Linked DNA regions of Homo sapiens: regions 1 and 2 are each linked to region 3. The links are contacts of gene promoters, found by promoter capture Hi-C in human tissues and cell types (Jung and others, 2019). All regions are on one chromosome and are shown on one strand. The core of a region is centred on a gene start or on the middle of the fragment in contact, and the rest is flanking DNA. Distances in the headings are between cores, read along the strand shown.

What was found. The method cuts DNA at HindIII sites, captures the fragments that hold promoters and counts their contacts. A contact is called where the count stands out against the background at its distance.
Region 1: the fragment with the promoter of P4HTM here is called in contact with a fragment that was not itself captured in region 3 in 3 of the 25 tissues and cell types used here (liver, mesendoderm cells and psoas muscle).
Region 2: the fragment with the promoter of DALRD3 here is called in contact with a fragment that was not itself captured in region 3 in 1 of the 25 tissues and cell types used here (aorta).

What each region holds. Positions count from the first base shown.
Region 1 is chr3:48,988,571-48,992,614 of GRCh38, reverse strand. It overlaps P4HTM (prolyl 4-hydroxylase, transmembrane), which reads right to left and starts at 2,374. Exons shown (of 9, transcript NM_177939.3): 1 at 2,005-2,374; 2 at 1,701-1,782. The coding sequence starts at 2,358. LOC124909376 (a long non-coding RNA gene) reads left to right here and starts at 2,743. Exons shown (of 2, transcript XR_007095903.1): 1 at 2,743-3,067. RefSeq lists enhancers at 1,402-1,963, 2,621-2,780, 2,528-3,090, 3,091-3,654 and a silencer at 2,131-2,510. The HindIII fragment of the contact is 19,056 bases long and covers 1-4,044 here.
Region 2 is chr3:49,017,108-49,020,954 of GRCh38, reverse strand. It overlaps DALRD3 (DALR anticodon binding domain containing 3), which reads left to right and starts at 2,375. Exons shown (of 12, transcript NM_001009996.3): 1 at 2,375-2,555; 2 at 2,637-2,932; 3 at 3,086-3,342; 4 at 3,442-3,521; 5 at 3,599-3,727. The coding sequence starts at 2,391. MIR425 (microRNA 425) reads left to right here and starts at 721; the gene lies at 721-807. It overlaps MIR191 (microRNA 191), which reads left to right and starts at 246; the gene lies at 246-337. It also overlaps a transcript of NDUFAF3 not described here. RefSeq lists a silencer at 3,145-3,379 and an enhancer at 2,828-3,599. The HindIII fragment of the contact is 18,150 bases long and covers 1-3,847 here.
Region 3 is chr3:48,818,573-48,822,645 of GRCh38, reverse strand. The region is part of intron 1 of PRKAR2A (protein kinase cAMP-dependent type II regulatory subunit alpha); the gene reads left to right. Among named protein-coding and RNA genes, the nearest start is that of PRKAR2A, 27 kb to the left of the region's middle. The HindIII fragment of the contact is 9,279 bases long and covers 1-4,073 here.

The sequences.
Region 1 (4,044 bases), core at 1,125-3,624, 170 kb before region 3:
TTTTCTTTGAGATAGGGGTCTCTCTCTGTTGCCCAGGCTGGAATGCAGTGGTGCGATCTTGGCTCACTGCAACCTCTGCCTCCTGGGTTCAAGTAATTCTCATGCCTCAGCCTCTTGAACAGCTGGGATTACAGGTGTACACCACCACACCCGGCTAATTTTTGTATTTTTAGTAGAGATGAGATTTCACCATGTTGGTCAGGCTGGCCTCAAATTCCTGACCTGAAGTGATCTGCCTGCCTCAGCCTCCCAAAGTGCTGGGATTATAGACATGAGCCACCACGCCCGGCCCTGTCTGCTATTTTATGTTGGCAAAAAAGAAAAAAGAAAAAAAATCTGCCTTACTTGTTTGCAATCACATATCACCATCTGACACACCAATGTATATATTTATTTGTTTGTTTATTGTCTGTTTCCTCTTCATTTGAATGTCAGCTTCAGGGTTTTGTTTCATTGTTTATATTTAGTTCAATGCTGTGTTCCTGGCACCTAAAATAGTGCCTGGCACAGACTTCAACGTTACTCAATAGTAATAGTAATAATAACAACAACCAGCTTTGGGTGCCTCTCCCACAACAGGACTGACAGCATAATCTATTTCCCTACAAACAGCATGCATATGACATCATTCTGACAGGTCTAGGCATAATCCCCAACCAGGACCCTCTGCCTTGGAGGTAATGACTTGTGCTCAGATGTTCTACTTTGGCCCCAGCTCCTAACCCATTCCATCCCCCGGCAGGCAGGAATGGCCCTGGGTTTGCAAATATGTTTGTCACGGAGGCCAGGTACCCAGGGCTGGGCTACACAAACACCCTGGACAATGTCCATGGGACTAGGGGTCCCCACCCAGTTGACACTGGTGGTCTTTGAAGGACTCTGGGGTCTTCACAGCTCGCACTGTGGCTTTACTGCATAGGCCTTAGAGGCAGGCTATGTGGGTTCTAATCCTAGCTTCACCACTGAAGTAACCGTGTCAGCCTGGCCAAGCCACAGCAGCTCTCTGTCCCTAACTTTCCCCCTCACTGGCCTGAGTAGGATCTACACCCACTTCACAGAGGGGTTGCAGGAATTAAATGAAATAATCATATGAAGGCAAGCACATAACTAGAGCTCAGAAACGATGAGCTATGTTGTGGCTCCAACTGGAGTCACCCTAGAAAGCTTTGCCCATGATGGCTGAACAAAGACTTCACCTTAAGAAGAATCTCAGAGTGCTGGCAGCAAAAGCTGAGCCTCTGACTGGTACTCCAGTGGAGGAGGCTGGGGGGGTACCAGTTTATCTACATTTGGACGGCCTGCTTCTCATCAGACCACAAGGCCCACTTCGGCAGTGGGATTTTCCCCAGAGGTCCTGAGGTCGGCAGAAAGCTGGTTATCAGTCTCCCACCTTCCTCCCAGTTCTAGAAGGTGACAGAATTAATGGTGGCACGGAAGACAGGTGCAATGAAACGTTTAGACACCAGCCTCAGGCTCACCCTGCCAGCCCTGTGATGGAAGAATGGACTGCAGGGAGTTGGGATAAGAGGGAGTGTTACCCTATTTCGAGGACGGGGAAGGTCCTTCACTTTGGTAATCCTCTGGAAGGGCTGCTCTGAAGCAGCCATTTTCAAAATAGAGGTCACGTGGTCACAACGAGCCTCAAGGTGGCCACCAAACCGCAGCCCCTGGCCCTTCCCAGGAGTATCTGGCGGACTTACCGAAGAGCAGCGGCTTGAGGCTGAGGGTTCGGATGAAGTGATCCCTGTCGGTGACCAGCTGGACCTTACGCTCGTGCCCCACCTAAGGAAAAGGCGCACAGCGGGCAGCTGGGGCGCCAGACCGCGCTGCCCAAGAAGGGCCAAGTCGCCCCGGCCCGGAGAGCGACAGCAGGCGAGTGAGTGGGAGCGCGCGGGACCGACGCAGAGCAGCGCCGGGGGCAGCGTGGGGACCCGGGCTGAGCGCCGGTCCTCTCGGGCTCAGCCGTGCAGGGCCTGGAGCGCGGCGGGGCAGGGAGGTCCTCACCTTGATGCCCTCCAGCCGGGTGAGGGGACCTAAGGTGGGCTCGGGCCCGGGGCCCTGGGCACGGTGTTGGGGCCCGGGATCGCTGCTTTCGTCGCCGTTGCTGTAGTGCACGAAGAGCAGCAGCGCCAGCACGTTACCCAGGTACAGGTGCACGAACACCATCAGCACCAGGAAGTAGGCGCGCGAGCAGATGCCGCGGGGCTTGCACAGCGGACGCACCGGTGCGTCCTCGCCGTCGCCCAGCCCGGCCGCCGCCTGAGCCTGGCAGTGGTCTGGCGGCGCCCACTGCGGCCTCGAGGCCTCCTCGGCCGCCGCGGTCTCAGGCCGCTGGCCTGTCACCGCCGCTGCCGCCATGGCACCCAGGTCGCGCGCGCGCCCAGGGGAGGGGCCGCGGGGGTGCCCGCGCTGCGCAGTCGCCCGGACAACGGCCGCCAGGCCCGCGAGCGCCGCGGTCACTAGGAGACGGTGCCTGGGGGTGCTGAGCCCGCCCGGAGCCGCCTGCGTCCGCGCCGGGCTCGGCCTTCCTGCGCCTTGAGCCCCAGCCCACGCTGGGGCTTCTCTTCCCAAGCTGGGTTGCCGTCGGGCAGAGCTGTACACTCTCCAAGTCAGAAGCCAAGGTCCCAAGCGTAGACGCGGACAAGAGCGGCACCATTAAGGCATACACTAGTGGGAGCTTCTCGGTGCCTGCGTGAAGACGCCCTCTTGCCTCCGGGAAAAGTATCGTCTGCATCTTCTTGCTCCAGGAGCGGGGGTGGGGAGCGCAGCGCGGAGGAGGCAGCGCTGAGATGACTCAACAGTGCGGCATTTGGGGGCGCCGCGGAGGCTGGGACTGCGTAAGCGGCGATAGGGTAGGACCCACAGCCTCCTCGCAGGCATTCTTGGAGCTCGGTTCCGCGGTCGGTCCGGATCTCCCGGGAAGTCTCGCCGGAGTCAGGCAGGCCTTAGGAAGAAGCTGCCTGATGTGCAAGGTTTCATAGGCCGTCAGAGGGGGCATCCTGGAGGAGCCCTGGCATCAGGAAAGTGAGCCCCCCATGGCAGCCCGCAGGAATGAACCAGTGCTCAGGTATATGGAACACTCCTTGCATCAAAGCTGGCACGTGTGAAGAGGCGGGAAGGGACTCTTCCATAACTGAGACACCATTACCTCAGAGAAAAATTAAACAGATTATCACCAAAAACGGGGGTGGGGGGAGGACATACCTACCAGTGGTCAAGTGCCAAGGCATCCCTGCTCTTCTAGAGCTGGTTATCCTCAGGAAGAGATTACTACACGCCCTCAGGGCAGAAGCTGACCCCCCTCCCCGAGGTGGACTTGCAGGCAAGAGCAACACTTTTAAGGCAGGTCACACTGGTGGTTTCTCCCTACCCTGGTTAAGACCCCCACTACCTCTACTCCCATCTCCTCTCCCTTCCCCATAGCAAAGCATAGTCTGCATTTTCTAGTCCCCTCAAGTCAAGGCAGGCCAGGGGCTCCAAGGGCAGGCCCACCTCTTTCTTCTAAGATTTTTTGTGTGTGTGTGACGGAGTCTCACTCTGTCGCCCAGGCTGGAGTGCAGTGGCGCGATCTTGGCTCACTGCAACCTCTGCCTTCCGGGTTCAAGCAATTCTCCTGCCTCAGCCTACCAAGTAGCTGGCATGCGCCACCATGGCGGGCCAATTTTTTTTTTTGTATTTTTATTTATTATTATTTAGTTTTAATTTTTTAATTATAATTTTTTTTTTTTTTTTGATACAGAGTCTCGCTCTGTCGCCAGGCTGGAGTACAGTGGTGTGATCTCAGCTCACCGAAAGCTCCGCCTCCCGGGTTCAAGCAATTCTCCTGTCTCAGCCTCCCAAGTAGCTGGGACTACAGGTGCCCGCCACAATGCCCGGCTAATTTTTATATTTTTAGTAGAGACAGGGTTTCACCATGTTGGCCAGGCTGGTCTCAAACTCGTGACCTCAGGTGTTCCACCCACCTTGGCCTCCCAAAGTGCTGGAATTACAGACATAAGGCACCACACCCAGACCAAATCTCCTAAATTCTTAAATATAATAAAC
Region 2 (3,847 bases), core at 1,126-3,625, 200 kb before region 3:
CAGGCTTCGTGGGACCAACAGGGCTAATCCTGCCCCACGGATCTAATCCGGATCGGGACCCGGTCCCAGGGGAGGCCCCCACCTCCCCTTCTATTGTTCTGTGGCCCAGGTGAGCGTCTTGTTCCCTCTAGACTCCGTTTCACAACCTACTCCCGGGTCTTCCTCCTGGGACTGGGGATGGGCGGGTTCTGATGTGGCCCCAGGGCGAGTGACCTGGGGGCAGGAGCTCCCCCGCCCCCCGCCAACGGCTGGACAGCGGGCAACGGAATCCCAAAAGCAGCTGTTGTCTCCAGAGCATTCCAGCTGCGCTTGGATTTCGTCCCCTGCTCTCCTGCCTGAGCAGCGCCCTGGCCCAGATGGGGTGCCCCTGACCCCCAGACATACTTTACTGAGCTGCTTGGGTCTCAGTTCCTCTCAGTTGCGCCCTCAGGCTGGAGGTGATGGGTGTAGACGTGGGAGAGCCGAGGCTGGTGGCCATCTCTGGAACCCTGGGGAGGATTGGCGAGGGAGGGTGGACCCAGGACCTCTGGGTAGGGCTGCAATGGTAGTGACTCCCCCAGGGCTGCCTCAGCCCGCATCTCGCTAAAGATAGCCCTCTTACTTCCTGGGGAAAAACCACCCCAACCGTCTTCGTGGATGAGAGTATCTGAAGTCCTCAGTTTGACTGAGGGTTCCCAACCCTGCTAAGCAGTTGTCTCCAGGTCATGCACCTTCAGAATGGAAAGCGCTTTGGAATGACACGATCACTCCCGTTGAGTGGGCACCCGAGAAGCCATCGGGAATGTCGTGTCCGCCCAGTGCTCTTTCGGCGCCTCCCAGCAGGGCCTCAGCCCTGGCCCAGAAAGGGGCCTTGCCAAGCTTTTCCTGCCCCTGGGTTTCCCTGCTCTCCGGATTTCCCAACTCTCTCTACTGAGTTAGCTTCTCTATTAAAAGGAATGGGGGTGGGGTGGGGGGTGAGTAAGTTACAGTGAAATGAAGACATTTGGGAACCTTTGTGGGAGAAAGAAAAAGACCTTTCCTATTGGTAGAGGAGCAAGATACTCCAACTGAGGCCTATTTTCTATTATGGTCGCATTATTTGGTTGGCCCGTAAATGGCTGTTGCCTAAAACAGGAAGCTTTAAGGATCGTTGTTAAAGCACACCAGGTTAAAGGAGTCACATTAAAAGCTGGTCATTCTGAGCCGGGCGCGGTGGCTCACGCCTGTAATCCCAGCACTTTGGGAGGCCGAGGCAGGCGGATCACCTGAGGTCGGGAGTTCGAGGCTTGACAAACATGGAGAAACCCCGTCTCTATTAAAAATACAAAAGTAGCCGGGCGTGGTGGCGCGTGCCTGTAATCCCAGCTACTTGGGAGACTGAGGCAGGATAATCACTTGAACCCGGGAGGGGGAGGTTGCGGTGAGCCAAGATCACACCACTGTACTCCAGCCTGGGCAACAGGAGCGAAACTCCGTCTCAAAAAAAAAAAAAAAAAGTCTGGTAATTCTGGAAGCCATCATGATGGTTGTGATTTCTCAGGTATCAAGAGAAGAAAACCGCCAACTGTATCAGAGTGCTTATTTATTGGGCATAAAGACCACCCGGGCTGGGTGCAGTGGCTGATGCCTGTAATCCCAGCACTTTCGGAGGCCGAGGCGGGCAGGTCACGAGGTCAGGAGTTCGAGACCAGCCTGGCCAACATGGCGAAACCCCGTCTCTACTAAAAATACAAAAATTAGCCGGGCGTGGTGGCGGGCGCCCGTAATCCCAGCTACTCGGGAGGCTGAGGAGGAGAATCCTGTGAATCCGGGAGGTGGAGGCTGCAGTGAGCCGAGATCGTGCCACTGCACTCCAGCCTGGGAGACAAGAGCAAGACTCCGTCTCAAACAAACAAAAAAACACCCATATCTCAAACGAGAAAATGCTTGCAAATAACCTGAAACCGCGGAACACTATTCTTTTTAAAACGAGATATTTTAAGTAGGTCGTGAAAGTGGCCTTAATGTTATACTGCCTTATTCCAGTGACGAATATTCATCATGTGTAAAATGGGAGAAATGAAATGTTATTAAAACAAACATGTGAGACTTCGATGAGAAGAGACGGTACCCGGTCTAAGCGCCCACCGGGTCGCGAGGATCCTTTTCCTGGTTAAGGCCTGGGTCACAGCGAAAGAACCCTAGGCCCAGGGAGGGCCCCGAGATTTCAGATCCGGGGCCCGGCTGTGCAGGTGGACCACGCGGAAGGGGCGCTGGGGGCGGTAGGTCGAAAGCAGCCGACAGGGCTACCACTGGCGCACCTGTCCACTTACGGGGACCACCGCCGCATCCCCGCCCCAGCTAGTCGGTCCTTTCCGGAAGTTCCACCTCCCTAAATTTTTTTCCGGTTCCGCTTACTCCTTCCGGTCACCATGGCGACCAGGCGCCTTGGGGTCGGGGAGACGCTGGGGGCCCTCAACGCGGCCCTGGGGCCAGGCGGTCCGGTGTGGATCAAGGAGACGCGCACCCGCCACCTGCGTTCCCGAGACTTTCTGGCACCGCACCGCGCGCTGCAGGCGCGCTTCGATGACGGCCAGGTGGGCGTGAGCCGGGCGGGGCCGTGCGGCCGGGAGATGGGCCCCGTGCCGTGGCTCTTTTACACGCCCGTTCTCCCGCAGGTTCCGGAGCATTTGCTCCATGCCCTCGCCTGCCTGCAGGGCCCCGGTGTGGCCCCGGTGCTGCGCTGCGCGCCGACCCCCGCGGGTCTGTCTCTCCAACTGCAGCGGTCCGCCGTCTTCGAGCGCGTCCTCAGCGCCGTGGCCGCCTATGCCACGCCCGCCTCGCCTGCCTCGCTGGGCCAGCGCGTCTTACTACACTGCCCAGCACTGCGCAGCTCCCCCTGCGCACTCCGCTTGAGCCAGCTGCGTACGGTGCTCGTGGCCGATCACCTGGCGCGAGCCCTGCGCGCTCACGGGTGAGCGGGGCCGCGGGGCCGGAATGGAGAAAGTGGGACTGCCGGGTACCTAGAAAGCGAGCGGCGCCGCCCGTGGGGACTGCGGCTGGAGGTGGGAAGTCGTGGCGAGCTGGACCAGGTGCTCAGACTGAGGCGGCCGCCCTCCCTTCGCAGGGTGTGCGTGCGCCTAGTGCCAGCTGTGCGGGATCCGCACATGCTGACCTTCCTGCAGCAACTGCGGGTGGACTGGCCCGCTGCCTCGGAGAGAGCTTCCTCCCACACCCTGAGGAGCCACGCCCTTGAAGAACTTACCTCTGCTAATGACGGGAGGACACTGTCCCCTGGCATCCTAGGCAGACTGTGTCTGAAGGAGCTGGTGGAAGAACAGGGCCGCACAGCTGGCTATGACCCCAACCTGGACAACTGTCTGGGTAGGACCTGAAGCCTAGCAGGGCCAGAAAAGGCAGGAGGGGGTTAGGGGCACATCTCTGCTTCTTGTCAGTCTCAGCACCTGTCTGTTCTCTTTTCAGTGACTGAGGATCTCCTCTCTGTGCTGGCTGAGCTGCAAGAGGCTCTATGGCATTGGCCCGAGGACAGCCACCCAGGCCTGGTTAGTGACTCCCAGCCCTGTAGGTTCTCCCAAACCAAGTATACTGTACTTCCACAGTTATGATTGTCCTCCCTTAGGCTGGGGCCTCAGATACTGGTACAGGCGGCTGCCTGGTTGTACATGTTGTTAGCTGTGAGGAGGAGTTCCAGCAACAGAAGTTGGACCTGCTTTGGCAGAAGTTGGTTGACAAGGCTCCACTCAGACAGGTAGGTTAATAATGATGGTGGAGCTCCCCACCACCTAACCCCCAACCTCAGAGGGCCCTTGAAAACCCACCGAGGGGCTTGTTAGCTGACAGAAACCAACACTTGACCTTGGGGGAGTTG
Region 3 (4,073 bases), core at 915-3,414:
ATTTGTTATTTTCATTTGATTACTAGTCTGTGACATGTGTCTTGTGTTTTAATTACAGAATATGTGAAATTGTGTTCTTAGGAAAATGAAAATGGCTTAATTTTGCTAATTTGCTTTTTCTTTTATTAGAGTATAATTTTTTTCTTTTGGCATCAGTTACCGAGGCCATTTTTTCCTTCTCTTTGCTCTAATCTAAGCATATAGATTCAATTTAGTAGATATTGTGAGTGCTAGCTGGTGTTCTATCAATTTGAAATGGTTCTGTGGCCATGGAAGTTTGGGAGATGCTTCTACAGGCCAGGGACACATTAAACAGCTTTATAAAGGGAAGGAACATCACCATATTTATACCCCATGCAAGCTGTGTGAAGAACTGGTCTGAGGCAGTGCCAGGCTGGATGCTGGGAAACTCCATTTTTTTTTTTTTTTTTTTTTGAGACAGAATCTTGCCCCGTCACCCAGGCTGGAGTGCAATGGTGCAATCTTGGCTCACTGCAACCTCTGCCTCCCTGGTTCAAGGGATTCTCCTGCCCCAGCCTCCTGAGTAGCTGGGATTACGGGCATGCGCCACCATGTCCAGCTATATTAGAGATGGGGTTTCGCCATGTTGGCCAGGCTGGTCTCGAACTGACATCAAGTGATCTGCCCGCCTTGGCCTCCCAAAGTGCTGGGATTACAGGCGTGAGACACTGCGCCTGGCCCTGTTTTCATTCTTTTTTTTTTTTTTTTCTGACATGGAGTGTTGCTCTGTCGCCCAGGCTGGAGTGCAGTAGTGCAATCTCGGCTCACTGCAACCTTCACCTCCCAGGTTCAAGCGATTCTGCTGCCTCAGTCCCCTAGTAGCTGGGACTACAGGTGCACACCACCATGCCCGGCTAGTTTTTGTATTTTTAGTAGAGACAGGGTTTCACCATGTTGGCCAGGCTGGTCTCAAACTCCTGACCTCGCGATCCGCCCGCCTCGGCCTCCCAAAGTGCTGGGATTACAGGCGTGAGCCACTGTGCCTGGTCCTGTTTCCATTCAAAAGGGAGTTCTTGACTGTCTTTCAAGGGTGTGGTAAAACTTAAAGATAATGTATGCTAAATATCTAGTGTCTGGTGTGATAACTGTAATTGGTTGTTTAATCATTTCTATTGATCCTAGAACTCATATCTCTCAAGAACTCATATCTCTAAAAACCAGGGAACTTGCATATTTAAAAATTCTTGGGAAATTGGATTATCAGTAAGAGTTTTGATTGGAAAATACAGAATTGTAACAGGAAAAATAGCAATAGCTGGAAGGGAGTGGGGATGGGTAGGAGGAGGTATTTCCCTAGTTCTGGGAGCATGAAGCAAAGCTGGTCTTTACAGCAGAGAATGATCCTTTTAGGTCTGGATAGCTGGTGTTCCTAGAGTTGAAGTTTCTGCCCCTGGGTAAGTAGTGCTCTGTGTCATCTCTGACTTGACCCACAATCCCCACCACTCCTTGCTCTGATCTTGCCACAGTCAGATCCTATACTTAGGGAGACGTTCTTTCTCTTTCTGTGAGGCATGGCTTACGCTGGACTAATCATTCCACCCTTGTCCTACTGTTACAGTCTGTGTTTAGGAGTAAATGGGGGAGTAATTAAAACTGTGTGATTGGAGATGGTCATGGCATTGCCCCTGACATAGGGAGCCTGGAGTAACAGGAACTGTGAAGTTTATTGGTTCTATTCTGGACCTATTGAATTTCAGGTCCAACTCAGGGAGTTGGAGTTCCAGCTGGCATTTAGCCAACATTGGGAATGTGGGTCTGGAGAGCACAATGGTCATGAGTCAAGCTCACTTTTTCACATTTCTTTTCCTTTGCATATGCCTTCCCTTCTGCCTGGAATGCTGTCCTCCCCTTCTTGTTTCTCTGCTGAACTGCTACTTGTCTTTTATCAACCAGTTCAAGGGTTTCCTTTTCTGCACAGCAGCAACCCTATGAGGTAGGTGCTATTATTATCCTGGTTTTATAGATGAGGAAAGTGAGGCACAGAGGTTAAGTAACTTATTCAAGGTCACACTGCTAGTAAGTGAGGTGACTGGATTTGAACCCAAGCAGCCTGGCTCAGAATCTATGCTTATAACTACTTCATTCTTACTGGTTTCTAGGTACTTGGTAAGTACTTATCATATGAATCGAGTGTTCACAGTAGTCATCTATGTGCAAGAGAATTAAGGAGTCAGGTTCTCTGTTTTAGGACAGTATTTCCAGTGAGACAAAAGGCAATCCCCAAATGTTTCCTAATGTGTTCCCTTTTCTCCATTCCCGTTACCATTCAAGCTTTCTTCATTTTTTTGTCAGGAATATTACAGTAGGCCCATTACTGGTCTTCCCACTCCGTGTCTTATTCCATTGGTGATACTATTATTAGAATAATCTTTCCAAAATGCATGTATGACCCTCTTATTCCCTTGCGGTAGATCTACTCCATTGGCTCCACAGTGCCTAAAGCAGTTCCTGATCCAAACTAAAGAGCGAGCTATTCTGTATCCCCAGTTTAGAATATTCCAGAGAAGGAATGGCTTGGGTTGGGTCATATTCCGTTTTTGGAATAAGTTACCATGAATGTTCTATGCTTGTTCCAAGCAAGTTACCATGCTTAAGAACACTGATTTGCCTGGCTTGGATCATGCACCCTATCCTATGACCAAATTGGAAGTAGTAGGCAGAGTTGGGAGTGAAGTCCCACAAGGACTTCACATCTGTGAGAGGCCACTCCTAAAGGATAACTCTGGTTACCTAACTAGGAGAAGGTAGGGGTTTGGAGTAGTGTCACAGGAGGTGGGTTGACACAGTGGTATGGCTGAACACTGTTGTGGCCTTCAGCCTCCCCACTGCCTTCCTGTGTTATTTCAGCAGATGTCCACTCTGGTCAGCACTGGGACAGGGGAGGATAAAAGTGCACTTGACTATAGGAGCTTATCATCTGTCTGGTAGGGGCAGCAGTAAGCAAACAGGCAACATGATCCTTCCACAGGAAAAAGCTGGGGGGATTCTAATAAACATTATATTGCTAAGGATCCATAATTAAATAATGGAATGGTGGAATTTATTTCAAAAAATGTAAAACAAGTATTTTATTGATTCACACTTTTACTTTTCCTCAGTTGTCAAATTTAGATGACTCAGATTCTGGCTTGACCACTTCCTAGCTGTGTGACCTTGGGTACAATTCTCTGAGTCTCAGTCTCCTCAGCTACAAAATGGGATGGTAATAGGGTTGTTGTGAAGGGTATATGTGATGATGCATTTAAAATGGTTGGCATAATACTTGCACGTAGTGGGACTCAAAAATTGTAACTAACAAAAAATGTTTGAGGGTGGGCGTTGTGGCTCATGCCTGTAATCCCAGCACTTTGGGAGGTCAAGGCTGGCGGATCACCTGAAGTCAGGAGTTCGAAACCAGCCTGGCCAACATGGTGAAATCCTGTCTCTACTAAAAATACAAAAATTAGCCAGGTGTGGTGGTTGGCGCCTGTAATCCCAGCTATTTGGGAGGCTAAGGCAGGAGAATCGCTTGAGCCCAGGAGGCGGAGGTTGCAGTGGGAGGTTGCAGTGAGCAGAGATTGCACCACTGCACTCCAGCCTGGGCAACAAGAGCGAAACTCTGTCTCAAAAAAAAAAAAGTGTTTGAACAGGGTATACGTGGCAGAATAGCAGCTGTGAAAAAAAATGTGAAACTGCAGTATTTTAAAGATAGATAATTTTGAAAAACCAGCAAACAAACCCTCCACAAAACTATGATATCCCTAACATTTTACTGTCTCAGTACTTCTATACATAGGGTCATTAAGTCTGCCCTCGGGTCATTTGTGGTAAGTAGTACTACCCTTATTGAATTTGTGAGAATACTGAGGCTCAGAGAAGTTTAAGTTCTCTTTTCTTTTTTTTGAGACAGGGTCTTGCTGTGTCACCCAGGTTGGAGTGCAGTGGTGTAATCACAGCTCAAGCTCCCTGGCTCAAGCCATCCTCCCACCTCAGCCTCCCAAGCAGCTGGCACTGTAGGTGCACACCACTGTGCCTGGCTAATTAAAACATTTTTTTTTTGTAGAGACAGGGTC